2 separate regions of the Homo sapiens genome follow, and region 2 is linked to region 1. The links are contacts of gene promoters, found by promoter capture Hi-C in blood cells and fetal thymus (Javierre and others, 2016). All regions are on one chromosome and are shown on one strand. The core of a region is centred on a gene start or on the middle of the fragment in contact, and the rest is flanking DNA. Distances in the headings are between cores, read along the strand shown.

The links. The method cuts DNA at HindIII sites, captures the fragments that hold promoters and counts their contacts. A CHiCAGO score of 5 or more calls a contact.
Region 2: a contact is called between a fragment that was not itself captured here and the fragment with the promoter of CKM in region 1, in 4 of 17 cell types (M1 macrophages, M2 macrophages, megakaryocytes and 1 more). The highest score is 6.9, in M1 macrophages.

Annotation. Positions count from the first base shown.
Region 1 is chr19:45,321,395-45,324,390 of GRCh38, forward strand. It overlaps CKM (creatine kinase, M-type), which reads right to left and starts at 1,481. Exons shown (of 8, transcript NM_001824.5): 1 at 1,427-1,481. RefSeq lists an enhancer at 2,205-2,447. The HindIII fragment of the contact is 13,711 bases long and covers 1-2,996 here.
Region 2 is chr19:45,231,426-45,234,421 of GRCh38, forward strand. EXOC3L2 (exocyst complex component 3 like 2) reads right to left here. Exons shown (of 12, transcript NM_001382422.1): 3 at 2,768-2,996; 4 at 338-449. It also overlaps the pseudogene LOC100420902. Among named protein-coding and RNA genes, the nearest start is that of EXOC3L2, 12 kb to the right of the region's middle. The HindIII fragment of the contact is 926 bases long and covers 970-1,895 here.

The DNA of each region.
Region 1 (2,996 bases), core at 231-2,730:
GCTCAGCCTCTGGGTCGTCAGAGGCAGGTTCAAATCCCACCTATGCCATTTCCCTGCTGTGTGACCCCAGGCCAGTCACTAGGCCTCTCTGGACCTCTGTCTCCTGTGAACTGAGCCTGCCCCGTAGGATTGCCAGGATCCTCTGAGCTTGGCCATGAGGTTGGCTGAGCACAGGCCCTGGCATGGAGTTGGAGCCTGGAACCCTGGTGGCTGCTATTATTGTTATTTGTTATTACTACTTTTTTGCAGAGATGGGGTCTCACTATGTTGCCCAGGCTGGTCTGGGACTCCTGGCCTCAAGTGATCCTCCAGCATCGGCCTCCCAAGATGCTGGGATTATGCGTGTGAGCCACTGCGCCAGGTCCTACTGTTATTATTATTTTATTCACTGGACCCAGAAAGGAGAAGGGACCCAGAAAGGAGAAGGGGCCTCCAGCAGCGGTGGGAGACGGGGATGGGAAGCAGGTGGGATTGTGGGAGGGAGATTGGGACCACGGTGAGCTGAAGCCAGGGAAGAGGAACAGGGACCCGCCAAAGACCTTGGGTGCTGCTGTCCAGGGTGGTTATTTTTAGAATCTGGCAACTGCCTGCCATCCCACCCCCAGCTGCTGCCCCGCCCCACCCCCACATTCCGGGGCTCGGCTTGCACCAAGTCAGCAGGCCCAAGACAGGTGGGCCAGGGTGGCTGGGAGGACACGGGTCCAGGCCTCGGGGCTCAAGGACATCCTGGGATGGCAGCCCAGACCCCCTCCCTTCAGAGGATGCCCCCCTAATCCCTGCCAGGGACACCCCAGGAGAGGGCACTGAGGCAGGGTGGTGACCCCCCCCACAAGAGACATAAGCAGAAAGCCCCAGAGCCACACACCCCCACCACCGCAGACTCCCCAGATCACACTGTAAACTAAGTCACACAGTCACACTTCCAAACTCAAGGACATGCCCAGGACACTCATGTGTCCGCTACTAAGTCAGAAACAAGGTCACAGGGACCCACACAGTAGCAAACGCAAAGAAAGCCTGCGACACCTGCTCTTGCAGACTCTGCTAGGCGACAGACACACCTCCCACGGCTTGTGGCGCCAGTGTTGGCGACAAACTGTAATGAACACAGGCCTGGCTCAACAGCCCCTTGCAGGGGGTGACAGTTGGCAGCTGTCAGGACCCCTTTCATCTCGGATCCCTCCCCATAACCCAAGACTTGTGCCGCAGAAATCACAGGTCCCAGTGGGGGGTTCAGGCAGCCTCACAGATGGAGGGGCCTCCCAGACACACAAGGGTCAACCTTCCCACGCACCGACCTGCCTTTGTATAGGAGGATGTTGGTGGAGCAAGGGGTGACACACAGACCCTTTCCCAAGCCAAGCCTCTAGCACCCACAGAAATCCCCTACTCTGGCCCCCACCCAGATTCCCGCCCCGTGCAGTACCTGGCTGGGCTGGGCTGAAGGGGGGCTGTCTGTATCCTGGAGGTGACACTGACCCAAAGGAAGGGCCAGCAGCCGTGGCCTTATATAGGGGGACCTAGGCTGTGCTATTGGCTGGGAGGGGTTGTCCCCAGGGAGGAGTTCTGGAGGGCAGCTGAGCCTCTCACCTCCCTGCTCCCGCACCATACCCACCCTGAACCCAGGCATGCTTTGCGCCCAGCCCCATGGCCTTGTATGGGCTGAGCCGCCCCAGGGGCTGGGCTCACGCCCCCCCACCAAGCTGATACCCTGACCAAGTGCTGAGTTGGGCTGGCGGTGGGGACAGCTGGCCCCCCGCCGGGAACATGGGACGGTGGCTGGGAACGTCCCAAGCACGTAGAAGCCACCGTCCCCTGGCCCCTGAGTCTCCTTCAGCCACCAGCCCTTCCTGTGGCCCTCGGCTCCCCCTGTGCCCCCTGGGCCCTCACCCCTACCCGAGTCCCAGCGGCACCTCGGGGAACCAAGGTGTGGCTCCAGGAGGAGCAGATACCCTGTGAGCTGGAGGAAGCAGAGGCCGGGAGAAGGACCAATTGCAATGGAGGGCAGTCTAACCCCAGAAACCCGCGCTTGGGCGCCCCTTCCTCCTAGGGACTGAGTGGAGGGGAAACTGAGGCTGGCTGAGTTGGAGAGATTCAAACTCAGGGCAAGGGTGGGAGGCGGTGGTCACCCTCCCCCCCACTTAACCCTCGCCCCCTCGGTGCCACTGGGAGATTTCCGCTGTGCGGGGGACAGGGAGGGTCTCGGTCGCCGGGAAAGGAGTTATTTTTAGAGGGCGCTTTGCTGTCTCCTCTGCCGCAAAGGCCGAGACCCGAGGCGCTGGGTATGGGGGGGTTCGGGGGCAGGTGTTGGAGGGGGGTTCGCCACGTGTCCTGGTTAATTATAACCGGGCGTCTCGGGTGTCCTCGGGCCTCGCCTCCTTACAAGGGCAGCCACGGGGCCCTGGGTGGCCGCTCCCACCTCCCGGGGAAGGGGGCTGGGCAGCGACGCCGTTCAGAGCGCGGGCGCCAGACTCGCGCAGATCTGGGCAGAGCAAGCGCTCTCGGCGCCTCGGCTGTGAGCAAGGACTTCCAGGGCTGAGAGGGGGGTTCTGTGGAGGAGAGTACAGTATAGAGGAAGCCGCTTTCTCCTCCTGGGACGCGCCAGGATTGCAGGCTGATCGGGTCTCCTCCTCCAGGGAGCTCCCAGGATTGCGACGAAGAAAAGAATGTCCCTTCCCTCTGAGTTCCTCCCTATCCCAGGGTCTCCTGGGTCTCCTTCACATCTTCTTAGGCAGGTGAGGACTGGCTTAGAGAAAGGGAGCCTCTGTGCCTCTCCCTCAGACTCCTGATCTGAGGGGGGAGGGGAGAGGGGTGCTTTAGAAATATTTACATGGGGCCCAGCCCTTTCCCAGCAAGCTCAGATTGCCGAGGGTCTCCTTCACGGTTACGGAAACTGAGGCCCAGAAAACCAAATGGAACTGGTCTCGAAACAGGGATCTATCAGGCACTTCCTGAGGCTACAACAAAACACAAAACCCCCGCCGTCCTGGAGGTGA
Region 2 (2,996 bases), core at 183-2,682, 90 kb before region 1:
TCCAGCCTGGCAACAGAGCGAGACCCTGCCTCAAAAAAAAAAAAAAAAAAAAAATCTTTGATGCTATACTTCTGTGAGTCTTTGGGCCTGTGAGCTGTAGTTCTGTGACTAACTTTCTTGTACTCTAAGGTTTGAAGTGTCCAGATATACTGAACCTTTACCAAGTGTCTCTGTACAGCGGCCTTTGTGTCTATGGCACATGGATAGAACTCAGAAGTTCGTAAAGGGAAAAGGGAGTTGGAAAGAGTGAAAGGTGGAGGGGACAGGCTTCCCAAGCCCACTGTGACCCCCTCCCTCCACAGCACCTCCTGCTTCCAAAATGCAAAGTTCCAGGTACCTTAACATCTGTGACGCATTCATCCTCCAAACCCCGCAGGGTGCCAGGGGAGAGAAGGGGCCCCAGCTCCCCATTCTCCAGGGCGGCCATGTCCACCAGCCCTAGGACCTCTCTGGGGATGGGGGTGAGAGAAAAGGAGGTCTGTGAAAAGTGGGGCTGGGCAGTTGGAACCTTCCCCACACCCTCCTACCCACTGTTTCTGTGACCCTGGGCCACTCCCTTCCTCTCTCTAAGTCATCTCTGCTCATCCCTCAGAGGAAGTCTTTGGAATTGTTGCTTCCCCGGCTCCAGCTCTCTGAGTCAGCTCCCTGATGGATGGTGTCCCGGCATGATATTTAGGGGTCAAGTCCAGGCTTGAAGATCTGACATGCAAGGCTTCACCCATGATCCATTTCACCAGACAGAAGTTCCCTTTGCACCTATGCTCTGAGGCCCTGCTGCCTTACCTGGCCTTGGAGGCTTCCCCAGTCCAGCCCTCTCTCCCCACCTTCTACGAGCTTACATGCCTGGAGCTATGTGATATCATCAATATCCACCCCCAAACACCCCAGACTTGGGCTCATGGCATCCTCTCAATTATAAACACCATTGCCCTACAAATTGGACCAAACCCAGTTCCCACCACTTTAGGAAGCTTTCCGGACTCCCTATCCTGCCTCCATCCCTTATAGATAACATGAGAGCATTATTGACATACATTCCCAAATGAGATCTATGTGGTCAATGTGGGTATCTGTTGCCTTCCCAGTCTTCCGGTGACAGCATCCTGATTTTGTTGGAAGAACCACCCACCCCCTTCACTGTCCAACGTGTGGCTTGGATGTGGCTAACTCCCTTTTCTCTGGGGTAGACAGGTGACCTGGAGGTGGCTAATCACCATAGTCCATCCCCCGGCCACAAGAATGGGTATGTTTTAGGACACAAAGTCTCAACAGTAATAAGATTCTAGGACTGAGAGGGACCATGGTACTGAGGTTCTGGGTGCTACCCTTATAGAATTCAAGGGGCAAACAGCACTCAAGTCCTAAAACTGGCCCGGGCATGGTGGCTCACACCTGTAATCGAAGCACTTTGGGAGGCCAAGGTGGGTGGATCACTTGAGGTCAGGAGTTCGACACCAGCCTGGCCAACATGGTAAAACCCCGCCTCTACTAAAAATACAAAAAAATTAGGCCGGGCACAGTGGCTCATGCGTGTAATCCCAACACTTTGGGAGTTCGAGGCAAGTGGATCACCTGAGGTTAGGAGTTCAAGACCAGCCTGGCCAACATGGTGAAACCCCGTCTCTACTAAAAATACAGAAATTAGCTGTGCATGATGGTGGGCGCCTGTAATCCCAGCTACTCGGGAGGCTGAGGCAGGAGAATCACTTGAACCCGGGAGGCGGAGGTTGCAGTTGGCAGAGATTGCAGCACTGCACTCCAGCTTGGGCGACAGAGCAAGACTCCGTCTCAAAATAAATAAATAAATAAATAAATAACGTCCTAAAACTAGAAGGATCAACAGTGTTGAGGTTCTAAGACCAAAAGAGGGAATGAGGCTAAGGTTTAGGATTCAAAGCTTCATTGGTACTAAGCTTCTATGGTTGCACCATACATTCTAAGTTCTAAGATTGGAAACGTCAACAGTACTAATGCCCTAGGCTCTAAAGAGAAAGCAGTGTAGGATTCTAGAATTCTAAGTGTCATTGTATTAAGGTGAAGGGTCAGTGGGGCTATGGTTCTAGGAAGGAATGGTCAACAGTGCTAAAACTCTAAGACTGGAAGGGTGAACAGCTAAGATTCTAGTAGCGTAAGTGTCATGAAGCCCAGGTTCTTGGACTGGTGGGCCCACCGTGCTGAGCTACTAGGATTGAAACTGTCGATAGTGCTAAAATTGTAGAACTGGAAGAGTCAATGGTGCCAATAGGTTCTAGGTCTGAAAGGGTGGGAATGCTAGGATTCTAAGACTGGAAGCATCAGTGTTACTTAGATGCTAGGAGTGTAACTGTCGATGATGCTAAGGTTGTATGTAGGTCTAGAAGAATGAATGGTGTTGAGATTTTAGGAACGGAAAAGTAGCAACGCAAAGGTTCTAGGACTAGAGGAATCAATGGTGCTAAGATTCGGGGACTGGAAGGGTGGACAGCGAGGCGATCTAGAGTGTAAGTGTTGACAGAGCGCTGAGGTTTTTGGACCACAGTGGTGCCGGAGCTCTTATTCTAGGACTGCAAGCGTCCATGGTACTAAGGTGCTGGAACCGGAAGCCTCGGTAGCAGTGAGAGTCTAGGATTGTAACTGTCAGCGGTGCTGACGACTGGATGGGTTAATGGTGTTAAAGTGCTAGGACTGTAGGGTCAGCTGTCCCAAGGTCCTTAAGGTCTGAAGAAGCCAGTGCTAGGGGGTAGGGCTGAGGGTTTCACGTGACCTTGGGCAACTGAGTCCAGCTTACCTGGGGTAGACCTGATTGTGCCAGTGCAGCAGCGCGTAGCGGTCGGCCAGCGGCAGCCTGCGACGGGCGGAGGCCCCCAGCCACTCGGCCAGGGCCCCGTGGTAGCCGCGCAGGTAGACGCCGAAGGCGCCCAGGCCGGCGGGGTAGGCGGGCGCCAGGCGGCCCCGCACCACGGCCATATCCTCCAGCAGCCGCGCCCGCAGCGCCTCCAGCTGCCCGGCCAGGCCCC